Regions from separate parts of the Homo sapiens genome. Here all the other regions are linked to region 1. The links are contacts of gene promoters, found by promoter capture Hi-C in human tissues and cell types (Jung and others, 2019). All regions are on one chromosome and are shown on one strand. The core of a region is centred on a gene start or on the middle of the fragment in contact, and the rest is flanking DNA. Distances in the headings are between cores, read along the strand shown. Region 1 holds the start of RASD1 (ras related dexamethasone induced 1). Region 2 overlaps PEMT (phosphatidylethanolamine N-methyltransferase). Region 3 has its middle 69 kb from the start of NT5M.

Region 1 (4,148 bases), core at 1,011-3,510:
TTTGTCATCTAACCCAAAGAAAATTAAGCGGGTGGATGGCTAGAAAGAGTTCATCTCCAGGGGGGACCCTGAAATCCTTTATATTCTTCCCGGTTTTCTAGGGAACCATCCCCTACATAGATGCCCCAGGCATCTGGGGCTTTTCTGGCAGCTGAAGCTGCCTTCAGAAGGCCAGGGTTATTTTCCAGTTCTGGGGAAGGTAAGTTCTAGTTCCACCTAAGTCAAAGCCCAGCCCTTTCCTTCTCCCCACCCTTCCCCACTCCAGCCATCTCTAAAAGCAAAAAAAAAAAAAAAAAAACCGGTTTTCCATTTTAAATTATTTTATTGTATATTAAAAAACCAAATAAAGCAATAACTTTAAAGACCTCAGACACACACAGTATAAACACCTGGGTAAGGTTTTGTTCGTGTCCATGTTGACACCGGAACTACCGTTAAAGTGCAAGTTTTGTTTTGTGTTCCTTTGTGCAGTTTCACTCACATGTAAACAAGTCACTTGGCTATGATTTGACCCACGCCCCCCCGCTTAGTTTTGGGAGGGCAGAGGCTCTACCGGCTGTCACAGCAACCCGGAATCACAGACAAGATAATGCCCCGTGGGTCCTGACCCTCAAGCGGGCATGACGGTTTCTTGAAGCCTAGCAGAGGCTGGATAACTTCACATCCCTCCCCCACCCCGCGCTCACTCTTAGGTCTTTGAGAAGATAAATCCACCCTCGGCTGGGCCCTCGCTCCCAAAGTTATGGGGGTGGCGGGCCTCAATGGGGGACCGGGGGTGGGGAATAGTCCCAGTCTTGGCCCGTTCTCTTTCCTTCCGGAGCAGATGACCGTCCCTTCTCGGTTCAGTGGCGCCTCCCCAGTGCTGGGGGCGGATCGCCGGGAGGGGAGACGCCAGTCCGCGCGCGCTCCCGGCCTGGGGCGCACCGGGCCGTTGGATTTGACTTAACAAAAAGGTCCTCCTTAGGTTGTGTCGCCAGCGCGGCGGGGCTCCTAGCTGATGACGCAGCGCTCCTTGTCCTTGGCCTGGCTGCCGGCGCTGGCCTTCTCGCGGATGTACATGAGGTCGCTGTGTACGCTGGGCCGGCGCGCGAAGGGTGCCACGATGCCAAAGGCGTCGCCCGGGTCGCCGCCGCCGCCGCCGCTGCCGGCCCGCAGCAGCTTCTTGTTCCGCAGCGCCTTCTTGTGCAGCACGTCGCAGTACTGCACCGAGACCTTGCGGTGCAGGTCTGGGCTCATCTCGCTGGGCAGCTTGGCCATGGCGAAGAGCGCGCGGAACATCTGGTCCAGGCTGCTGTTCTTCTTGGCCGAGATCTCGAAGTAGGCGCAGCGCTGGGGGTCGTCGCCCACCAGCTGCTCGATCTCGCGCTGGTCCACCTCGCGGTAGAAGTCGCGGTCACCCTTGTTGCCGCAGATGACCAGGGGCACGTCCACGTTCTCCTTGGTTTTGTTCTTGAGGCAAGACTTGGTGTCGAGGATCTGCTGCCTGAGCCGCTGCACCTCCTCGAAGGAGTCGCGGTTGTCCAGACTGAACACCAGGATGAAAACGTCTCCTAGAGGGGGCACAGAGAGCAGAAAAGGAGAAGGTGAGGGTGGCCGCCCAGGGGACAAGTCGGGCTGACTTTGAGGCCGCGCGGGGCGCGCTAGCCTCTCTAAGCGCGAAGCGCACTACTCGGCGCGCGGCAGCCGGACCGGCGCTCGCGGGGCGCCCTGGCCGAGGGTTCCCCGCCCTTCCCTCCCGCACCTGCCCGGCCCCCGGCTCACCTGTGAGGATGGAGAGGCGCCGCATGGCGGGGAACGGGTGGTTGCCGGACGTGTCGAGGATGTCGAGCTGGTAGACCTCGCCGCGGATGGAGTAGAACTTGCGGTGGAAGTCCTCGATGGTAGGCGTGTAGGCGTCCTCGAAGCGGCCGGTGAGGAAGCGCGACACGATGGCCGTCTTGCCCACCTTGGACGAGCCGAGGATGACCATGCGATAGCAGTTCTTGGCCGGGATACTCAGCTCCGAGTCGCTCGGGCACATCTTCTTGATCATCGCGGCCAGTTTCATTGGGCAGAGGGGCCGCGAGGGCGGGCGCGGGGCCGAGAGAAGGGCAGAGAGCGGCTGAGGGTCGCTGGGGTGGCACGCGGGGTGAGCGGCTGGAGGGCTCTGCTCGGGCTGGGCGCGGCTCGGGCTTGGGGCTCCGGCTCCGCTCGGGCTGGGCTCGGGCTAGGCTGGGCTCGGCTGGGGTTCTCCCAGGATCTGGGCACAGGCCGCTTGCTCTGGCTTTGGCGCCCGGCCGCCGCCCTTATATGCAGCCTGCTCGGCTGCCCCGCCCCGGCCCTCCCAGCTCGGTGCGTCACGCCCCGCGGGGCCCGCCTCCCCCGCACCGGCTCCCAGTCCCGGCGACCTCGTCACCCGCTGCCGGGCTCCTGCTCTCTGGGCGCGGGGGCTGGGGGGAGCAGTCCAGGGTCGGGCTGAGGCTGGAGGCGCTCGGACTCCGCTTTTCCACTGCCGCGGGCTCGGCGGCCGCAGGGGCGTCGGGGTTCTGGTCCCGGCGGTGCCCCTGTCCCTCTGCGACTTCGGGCAAGGACCCCCATTCCTGCACCTCCCGCGCGCGTACACTTATTTTCTTTGGTTCTCAGTTTCCCCAGAGAATAGGAATCTAGTAAGTAACCCAGTAAGCGCAGCAGCGTTTGCTGAGTGCTTGCGCGGACCGTATATTGCAGTCCTCAGAGCACAGCCCCAGCCCCAGCCCCCTTCCGCTCCGGTCCCCAGCCGGGCTCTTGTTCCCGGGAGGCGACCGCCGGGCGGACGCGGGGTTTCAGGGCCTCAGGCGCGGAGCTCGGCACCGCGCGCTCGGGCCGCCAGAGGGCAGCAGAGGGCCCGGCCGGCGGCTCGGGGAGGCTGTGGCCGCCGCGGGCAGAGCTAGAACAGAGGCTAGGAGCAGGCGGGTGGGGAGCGGCAGGGATGGAGCAGGGGTCTCAGGGCGCCTTGCTGGGGCCCAACAGGAGCGGTCCCCAACCCCGCGCTCTGCTGCAGGCCTCAGCCTGCTCCTTTCTCCCAGCCAGAGATGCTCTGTGGTATGGAGGGCTCTGCAGCCAGCGGCCCACCCCGTCCATCATAGCATTTTGGGCTTTTACTGTGCCGCGCGTGGGCCGACGTTCTCATTGTCTAGCTGAGAGACCTGGAGCTCAAAGCCACAGCGAGCCAGGAAGGCCCTGGGAGCACAGCACAGCCTCTTGCTTTCTCCTGGGCCTCAGTTTTCTCTTCTGGAAGATACTGATTCTGGTTCTGTGATTAAGGATGAAAATATGCAAATGCTTTAGGAGGGCGGGGCCTGGTAATAACAATAGCAACAATAACAGTAGTATTGACCCATGAGGCCTGGTGGGGGTACTCTCAAGAGCACACCAGGTCGATCAGTAACCAGGAGTGGGGTGATGTTGCTGAACATTGGCAACAGGCTGTCTGGAGCCAGCTCCTCAGCCCTGAGCTCTTGAGGCAGTCACTGCTCCTCAAGGCAACCTGTGTGCTCAGTGTTTTGCTTTGGCCACGTCTGACTTACGAGAAAACTAGGGAGCCATTAGCTGGCACCACCGGCCCAGCTGTCAGGTGGTGGTCTGCAGGCAGTGCTGTGAGTGCCATACCACCCACCCCATGCCTACCCACCTCCCTCCCACGCTGGCACTTGCTGTAGGGGCTGCTGCAGGACACCACTAACTTGTTTCTCAGCCCAGCTTGGCCCCCATCCTCAGAGTCCCTGCATCTCTCCCAGGCCTCACTCTTACTGTCAGATATTTCAAATGCACGCATCACACAGTGAGCATCCAAGGGCTCATCAGTGGCCCTGGCCTGGCTCTGATTCCTGGTGTCACTTATGCAGCAGTTATCCGACAGGCTAGCTGGGGCTGGAGCCCCGCCATTCTTGGTTCCTGCCCCCATCTGAGGTATGTCTGCCAGAGTCTGGGAGAAGGGGAGAAGGAACTGAGTCGCAGCCCTGGATATAGGGCTGCAGTGGTGCAGGGTGTTCACTGCATAAAGGAGCCAGTTGAGGGTACATGGGGGGGCTCAGTTAAGGTACGGACCTGAACCACCTTCAGACTGAGCACCGCCTTCCTGTGCCTCCCACAGCGGCACTGCATGGGCAGCCGGGCTCTAACTTGGGATG
Region 2 (3,876 bases), core at 233-2,732, 90 kb after region 1:
GGTGAGGTATGAAGCAAAAGCTGACAGAACTAAAGGGTGGAAAAGACAAATCCACAGTTCTTGTTAGGGCCCTCCATGGTCCTCTCAGTGACTGAGAGAATCAAAGCAGTGGACAAGAAGGCTGCTGGAGCTGGCAAGGTCACCAAGTCTGCCCAGAAAGCTCAGAAGGCTAAATGAATATTATCCCTAATACCTGCCACCCCGCTCTTAATCAGTGGTGAAGAACGTCTCAGAACTGTTTGTTTCAATTGACCATTTAAATTTAGTAGTAAAAGACTGGTTAATGATAACAATGCATCATAAAACCTTTAGAAGGAAAGGAAAATGTTTTGTGGACCACTTTGGTTTTCTTTTTTGCCTGTGGCAGTTTTAAGTTATTAGTTTTTAAAATCAGTACTTTTGAATGGAAACAACTTGACCAAAAATTTGTCGGGCCGGGCGCGGTGAGTCATGCCTGTAATCCCAGCACTTTGAGAGGCTGAGGCGGGCGTATCATGAAGTCAGGAGATCGAGATCATCCTGGCTAACACGGTGAAACCCCGTCTCTACTAAAAAATTAAAAAAATTAGCTGGGCGTGGTGGCAGGCGCCTGTAGTCCCAGCTACTCGGGAGGCTGAAGCAGGAGAATGGCGTGAACCCGGGAGGTGGAGCTTGCAGTGACCCAAGATGGCGCCACTGCACTTCAGCCTGGGCGACAGAGCGAGACTCCGTCTCAAAAAAAAAAAAAAAATTGTCACAGATTTTTGAGACCCATTAAAAAAAATCTAATGAGAAAGAAAGAAAGAAAAAGAAAGAGAAAAAGAAAGAAAGAAAAAGAAAAAGAAGGAAGGAAAGAAAGAAAGAAAGAAAAAGAAAGAAAGAAAGAAAGAAAGAAAGAAAGAAAGAAAGAAAGAAAGAAAGAAAGAAAGAAAGAAAGAAAGAAAAAAAAAAACGCAGGTGGAAAATCGGGAGGACGCAGCTGACCTGAGCAGCGCCATCCAGTGGCTGGACCTGACCACAGCACATGGCAGCCTTGGGAACAGCCTGCAGTCTCTGGTGTCACCAAAACAGATCACACTTGGGGCCACCAAACAAACCTTAAATTTAAACGAATAGAAAGCATACACAGTATGCTCCCAAACCACCACAGAATTAAACTCGAAATCAGTCACAGAAAGCGATCGTGGAAAGAATGCACGCGAGGGCCAAATGGGAAGTCTTGGGAAATCTAGAAACATTTTGAACTGAATGAAAATGAGAATAGAACACATGAAACCCTGTGGGATGCGGCTAAGGCAGGGCTTCTATTAGTAAGGAAGAAAAGTCCCAGGTCAGGAATATAAGCTTTGCCCTTAAGAAATTACAGAAAGAGTGGCTGGGCGCAGTGGCTCATGCCTATAATCCCAGTACTTTGGGAGGCTGAAGCAGGCAGATTACTTGAGGTCAGGAGTTCAAGACCAGCCCGGCCAACATGGTGAAACCCCATCTCTACTAAATATACAAAAATTAACCAGGCGTGGTGGAGGGCGCCTGTAATCCTAGCTACTTGGGAGGCTGAGGCAGGAGAATTGCTTGAACCCGGGAGACGGAGGTTGCAGTGAGCCGAGATTGCACCACTGCATTCCAGCCTGGGCAACAGAGGAAGACTCCGTCTCAAAAAAAGAAAGAAAGAAATTAGAGAAAGAGGAATGAGTTAAACCCAAAGGAGGCAGGACAAAAAATTAAAGATAAGCAAAAATCAATCAAATTGAAAACAGGAAAACAATAGAGAAAAAAAAATTACACCCAAAGCTGGTTCTTTGGGGAAAATTTATTTTCCCAATAAAACTGAGAAACCTCCAGCCAGCCTGACCAAGAAAAAAAGAGAAAAGACACAAAATATCAATATCAGAAATAAAAGGGGGGACTTCTCTACTGACCTCACAAACATTAAAGTAATAATAAGGGAATACTATGAATAACACAAATTAAGTAACTTAGATGAAATGAACCGATCCTTGCAAGACACAACTGTCAAAATTCATTCAAGAAATAATCCTTTATCTTTTAAAGGATTTGAATTTATGGCTTAAAAACCTAAAAAAAGAAAGCCTTGAGCCCAGATGGTTTCCTGGATGAATTCTGCCTAACATTTAAGGAAAAAATAATTCCAATTCCACACAATCTCTTCCAGAATATGGAAGAGGGAGGCAATACTTCCCAACTCACTGTATTACCCTAACACTAAAACCAGGCCGGGTGCAGTGGCTCACCGCCTGTAATCCCAGCATTTTGGGAGGCCAAGGTGGGTGGATCACTTAAGGTCAGGAGTTTGAGACCAGCCTGGCCAACAACCCTGTCGCTACTAAAAATACAAAAAACAAAACAAAACAAAACAAAAACCAGGTGTGGTGGTAGGTGCACCTGTAATCCCAGCTACTCGGGAGCCTGAGGTGGGGGAATTGCTTGAACTCGGGAGGCGGAGGTTGCAATGAGCTGGTATCACGCCACTGCATTCCTGAGTACATGCCTGAGCAACAGAGCGAGACTCTGTCTTAAAATAAATAAATTAATTAAATCAAATGAAACCAGATAAAGAAAGAAGATCCCCCCAAAAATTAGAGCAAATCAAATCCAGCAATATATACAAAGGATAATATGTTAGGACCAGCCAGAGATCACCCCAGGAATCCAGAGCTAGTTCAACATTCAAAACATCAATGGAATTCATATTTACAGCTTAATGAGGAAAAACAGTGTCATCTCAACAGAGGCAGGGGAAACAAGCTCCAAGAGTTTCTGTCATTGTTTTGATGAGCAGCCACGGAAAGCCTCAACCCTGCTCTGTCTTGGCTGATGCCAAAATTACTGAAGACAAAATGTACGGCCTTGAAAACACCACAGAGTAACTCATCTAATATAACGGCCTAATGTTTATTTCAACTAAAGTAATACAATCAAAAGATTTTTGGAAACGATTTTGGATAAAGGCAAACATTTTTCCCTGAAAGGCAGTCAAGATACCCCGCATCGGCCATCGGAGCTTTGCCTCCAGGGTCTTACTCGGGTGCCCATATTACACACAGGGACCTGTGTCCCCTGCCCCAGGTCTCTCAGCCTTCTGAATACAAGGGCTTTGCCTTCTTGAGGACCACCCTTAGGTGGGCTGCACTCGATACTTCATAAAGCTTTACACCCCTCATCTCATTCTGGTCTTCACCATAACCCCCTCACTGTCCCCATTCTTCTTGACACCAACACCAAGCTGGAGACATCATCACTCACCCGCTCTGGTGAGCAGGTGATTCGCTATGGAAAAGGGACCTGAGACCTGGGCATGTGCCCTTGCTCTGAGGACCTCAGTGTGCTCTGCCAGCCTGGGTGCCCGCACCCCTAGGCCCTACTGGAGTCATCTTCTGAATCCTGGAGGTGCCCCGGCCTGTGGACAGCAAGATGCAGACCCTGCTCTCATCCATCTGCCACCCCACTGCCTTCAGGCAGCTGCCCAGCTGAGGAGCAAGGCTCCAGAATCCTGACAGGGAGGGCAACAAGGAGCAAAAGGGCCTTAGTCAGTGGGGCTGCAGCGGGCACACTCCTCACCCTAACTCCTCAGCCCAATGGCTGATTCTTTGGGTTGTTTGTTTTTGTTTTGAGACAGAGTTTCGCTCTTCTAGCCCAGGCTGGAGTGCAATGGCGTGATATCAGCTCACTGCAACCTCCACCTACGGGGTTCAAGTGATTCTCCTGCCTCAGCCTCCCGAGTAGCTGGGATTACAGGCATGTGCCGCCACGCCTGGCTAACTTTTTATATTTTTAGTAGAGATGGGATTTCTCCATGTTGGTCAGGCTGGTCTCAAACTCCCGACCTCAGGTGATCCACCTGCTTTGGCCTCCCAGAGTGCTGGGATTACAGGCGTG
Region 3 (4,024 bases), core at 806-3,305, 120 kb before region 1:
ACTTGCCTCTTCTTTCGTCTGGTCAACACCAGTCATGATTTTTGGCTGGCTGGCATTTTTGAACCCCTTTGTATGTCTGGGGAATCTCCCTCATGCTGGGCCAGAAATGTGCTTCCCAGGGCCCCTTGCACCTAGACGTGCACACGGGAGCTGGTAGGCAGGACAGTCACTGGCCCTGCATGAGGATCTGTAGACACCATGTGAGCCGCCCTGGCCAGGTGGCTGCTGAGACGCCAAGGGTCCAGTGGCAACCACAGCATCTGGCCCCAGTGCTGGTGGTATGCTCTTCTGGGCTGGGATTTGCATGGACCTCTGGCTGCAGGCCTGCCCTCCGGGCCATTTGAAGACCCTGTGAGCTGACTCTATCCTTCATTAATCCTTCACATGCCTAAACTGCCTGGCATGGGTTGCAAGGAGGAACCTTGACTGATACCTGCCTCCTCCCCAAGCTTACTCCTCCTCTGTTTCCATCGGAAACATCCCTCCCCTTGCCCAAGTGTGAAGCCCAGCAGTCACCCTGTCTCCTCTCTCCCTCCCCAGTTCCAATCCCCCAGTCTTACTGACAACTCTGCTTCCTACCTCTACAGCTCTGGAAGTGTCAGAGACGTTTGAACCAAAGCAACTCCATCTTGAATAGGAGCTGGGTAAAATGAGGCTGAAACCTACCGTGCTGCATTCCCAGACAGTTCAGGCATTCTAAGTCACCCTTTGTGTGTCTGAGGAATCTCCCTCATACTGGGCCAGAAACGTACTTCCCAGGGCCCCTTGCATCTAGATGTGCACATGGGAGCTGGTGGGGAGGACAGTCACCAGCTTATCATCACAGGATAAGATAGGAGGTCAGCATGAAATATAGGTCATAAATACCTTGCTGATAAAACAGGTTGCAGTAAAGGAGCCGGCCAAAACCCACCAAAACCAAAATGGCGACAAGAGTGACCTCTGGTCATTCAATGTTTGGGAGCCTTGCACACTCGCCTGGCTCCCCACGTGGCAATCATTCTGTCTGCCTTCAGGCTCCTGCACAAGCTGATGCTTCTACCTGGAGTTTTACTCCACTCTCTCCCTCCTTCCACCCCTACTTGGCCTTGGCTCTCAGCTTCTGGGAAAAGTCATTTCCAAACCTCCCCTCAGAGTAGTCATCTCTCCACAGCCCTCTGTGTTTCTGGGGGCTGTTAGGCATGGTGGCTGCCTGCTCATTCTTTGACACTTTCTTTAACACTTAGGAGCTCTGCAGCCCTGGGCAAGTTACTGAATCTCTCTGGGCCATCTTTATGTCTTCATTTATAAAATAAGGTTTGTGAAAGGAGAATAAATCTCAGGATCCCCAAATCACTAAGCCAAAGGGAAAAGTCAAGCTGGGAACTGTGTCAGGCAAACCTGCCTCCATTCTATTCCTAAATAAGATGGCTACAAAGATTGAAAAAAAAAAAGCCTACATGCCACATTTTCTTTCTTTCTTTTTTTGAGACGGAGTCCCGCTCTGTCGCCCAGGCTGGAGTGTAGAGGCGCGATCTCGGCTCACTGCAACCTCCGCCTCCAGTTCAAGTGATTCTCCTGCCTCAGCCTCCCGAGTAGCTGGGACTACAGGCGCCCGCCACCACGCCCAGCTAATTTTTGTATTTTTAGTAGAGACAGGGTTTCACCATGTTGGCCAAGATGGTCTCAATCTCCTGACCTTGTGATCTGCCCACCTTGGCCTCCCAAAGTGCTGGGATTACAGGCATGAGCCACTGGGCCCAGCCCACTTTCTTTATCCTAATGAATAGCTAATAGATGCTGGTCTTAATACCTGAGTGATGGGTTGATCTCTGCAGCAAACCACCATGGCACACGTTTACCTATGTAACAAACCTGCACATCCTGCACATGTACCCCAGAACTTAAAATAAAAGTTGAAGAAAAAAAAGCTACATACCTCCCTCACAACTTGCCCACAAGGAAATTCCTTGGATGAGGGACGGACAGAGCTCAAAGCCATCCTTCTGCCCACCGGAGACAAATGCACCTCTGATCGCCTCCTTTGCCCTGTTGTTTCACTGAGCCAGACTAAGGTATCAGTGACTATTCCTCTACCCTCCTCTCACAGGTAAATTGTGTATTCAGTGAAAGGCTAATCAGAGACCCCAAAGAATGCAACTGTTTGTCTCTTATCTACCTATGATCTGGAAGTCCCTCCCCGGCCTCGAGTTGTCCCTGCTTTCAGGACCGAACCAATGTACATCTTACACATACTGACTGACGTCTTCTCTCTCCCTGAAATGTATGAAACCAAGAGTGCCCTGACCACCTTGTTGTCAGAACCTCCTGAGGCTGTGTCACGGATGCGTGATCATAGCACCATCTTAGCTCCTTAACCTTAGCAAAATAAACTTCCCAAATCGACTGAGACCTGTCTCAGATAGTTTTTGGTTCACAGGTTCACCACATGTGCAGCCTCCACCCTTCTCCAGGCTGTTCTGGATGCTGCCCCTTCAGCCTGCATTTCCCTGTCTCTGGCTTCCCAGCACAGACTGGGGATGGGAGGGAGGGGGATGTATCTGCTTGGGACCGGCCTCTCACAGGGTCACAATGGGGCAGCCCTGGGGGTAGTAGCTGCCCACTGCTGCTGCCCTTTGGGGGCCTCCACGCCTCTTGGCTGTTCCCTTACCTCTGCCTAGGGCAGTGCAAATGCCGGCAGGCCTGCTTATTACACTTCGCTTCATTGCTGTTTGCAGATACTGCATTGTTTTTACAAGATTGGAGGTTTGGCTGGGCATGGTGGCTCAGGCCTGTAATCCCACCACTTTGGGAGGCTGAGGCAGGTGGATCACCTGAGGCCAGGAGTTTGAGACCAGCCTAGCCAACATGATGAAAACCCATCTCTACTAAAAATACAAAAATTAGCCGAGCGTGGTGGCGGGCACCTGTAATCCCAGCTACTTGGGAGGCTGAGGCAGGAGAATCGCTTGAACCCGGGAGGCAGAGATTGCAGAGTGCTGAGATCGTGCCACTGCACTCTAGCATGGGTGACAGAGTGAGACTCCGTCCCAAAAAAAAAACAAAAAAAACAAAAAAAACAAAAAAACAAGAACAGATTGGAGGTTGGCGGTGGCCCAGCATCCAGCAAGTCTATCGGTGCCATTTTTTCCAGCAGCGTGGGTTCACTTTGTGTCTCTGTGTCACATTTTGGTAATTCTCACAATATTTCAAACTTTGTCATTATTATTGTGTCTGTTATGGTGATCTGTGGCCAGTCCTCTTGGATCTTACTATTGTAATTGTTTGGGGGCACCATAAACCAATAAGAAAGTGAACTAATGTGTTGCATATGTTCCAACTAGTCCACCAACTGGCTGTTCTCTGTCTTTTTCTCCTCGGGCCTCCCTATTATCTGAGACACAACAATATCGAAATTAGGCCAACTAATAAGTCTACAATGGTCTCTAAGTGTTCAAGTGAAAGGAATAGTTTTGGGTCTCTCACTTTATGTATTTATTTTTGAGACAGGGTCTCGGTCTGTTGCCCAGACTGGAGTGCAGTGGTGCGATCATAGCTCACTGCAGCCTCGAACTCCTGGGCTCAAGCGATTCTCCTGCCTCACCCTCCCAAAGTGTGGGGATTACAGGCATGAGCCACCATACCTGATGTCTGTCACTTTAAATCAAAAGCTAGAAATGATTAAGCTTAGTGAGGAAGGCCTGTTGAAAGCCAAGATAGGCTGAAAGCTAGGCCTCTTGTGCCAAACACTTAGCCAAGTTGTGAAGGCGAAGGAAAAGTTCTTGAAGGAAATTAAAATGCTACTCCAGTGAACACACAAATGATAAGAAAGTGAAACAGTCTTATTCCTGGTATGGAGAAAGTTTGAGCGGTCTGGAGAGATCAAACCAGCCACAATATCTCTTAAGCCAAAGCCTAATCCAACGCAAGGCCCTAACTCTCTTTAATTCTATAAAGGCTGAGAGAGGTGAGGAAGCTGCAGAAGAAAAGTTGGAAGCTAGCACGGGTTGGTTCATGAGGAATGAAACCACTCCATATTAAGGAA

The links. Contacts are between HindIII fragments. The study calls those that stand out against the background at their distance.
Region 2: a fragment that was not itself captured here is called in contact with the fragment with the promoter of RASD1 in region 1 in 9 of the 25 tissues and cell types used here (H1 embryonic stem cells, IMR-90 fibroblasts, aorta and 6 more).
Region 3: a contact is called between a fragment that was not itself captured here and the fragment with the promoter of RASD1 in region 1, in 2 of the 25 tissues and cell types used here (H1 embryonic stem cells and spleen).

The regions. Positions count from the first base shown.
Region 1 is chr17:17,494,135-17,498,282 of GRCh38, forward strand. It overlaps RASD1 (ras related dexamethasone induced 1), which reads right to left and starts at 2,261. Exons shown (of 2, transcript NM_016084.5): 1 at 1,762-2,261; 2 at 303-1,550. The coding sequence starts at 2,047. The coding sequence ends at 991. RefSeq lists silencers at 2,192-2,411, 2,572-2,701, 2,752-2,981. The HindIII fragment of the contact is 34,145 bases long and covers 1-4,148 here.
Region 2 is chr17:17,585,369-17,589,244 of GRCh38, forward strand. The region is part of intron 1 of PEMT (phosphatidylethanolamine N-methyltransferase); the gene reads right to left. It also overlaps the pseudogene EEF1A1P43. Among named protein-coding and RNA genes, the nearest start is that of PEMT, 4.4 kb to the right of the region's middle. The HindIII fragment of the contact is 6,883 bases long and covers 1-3,876 here.
Region 3 is chr17:17,370,700-17,374,723 of GRCh38, forward strand. No RefSeq gene overlaps it. Among named protein-coding and RNA genes, the nearest start is that of NT5M, 69 kb to the left of the region's middle. The HindIII fragment of the contact is 3,797 bases long and covers 158-3,954 here.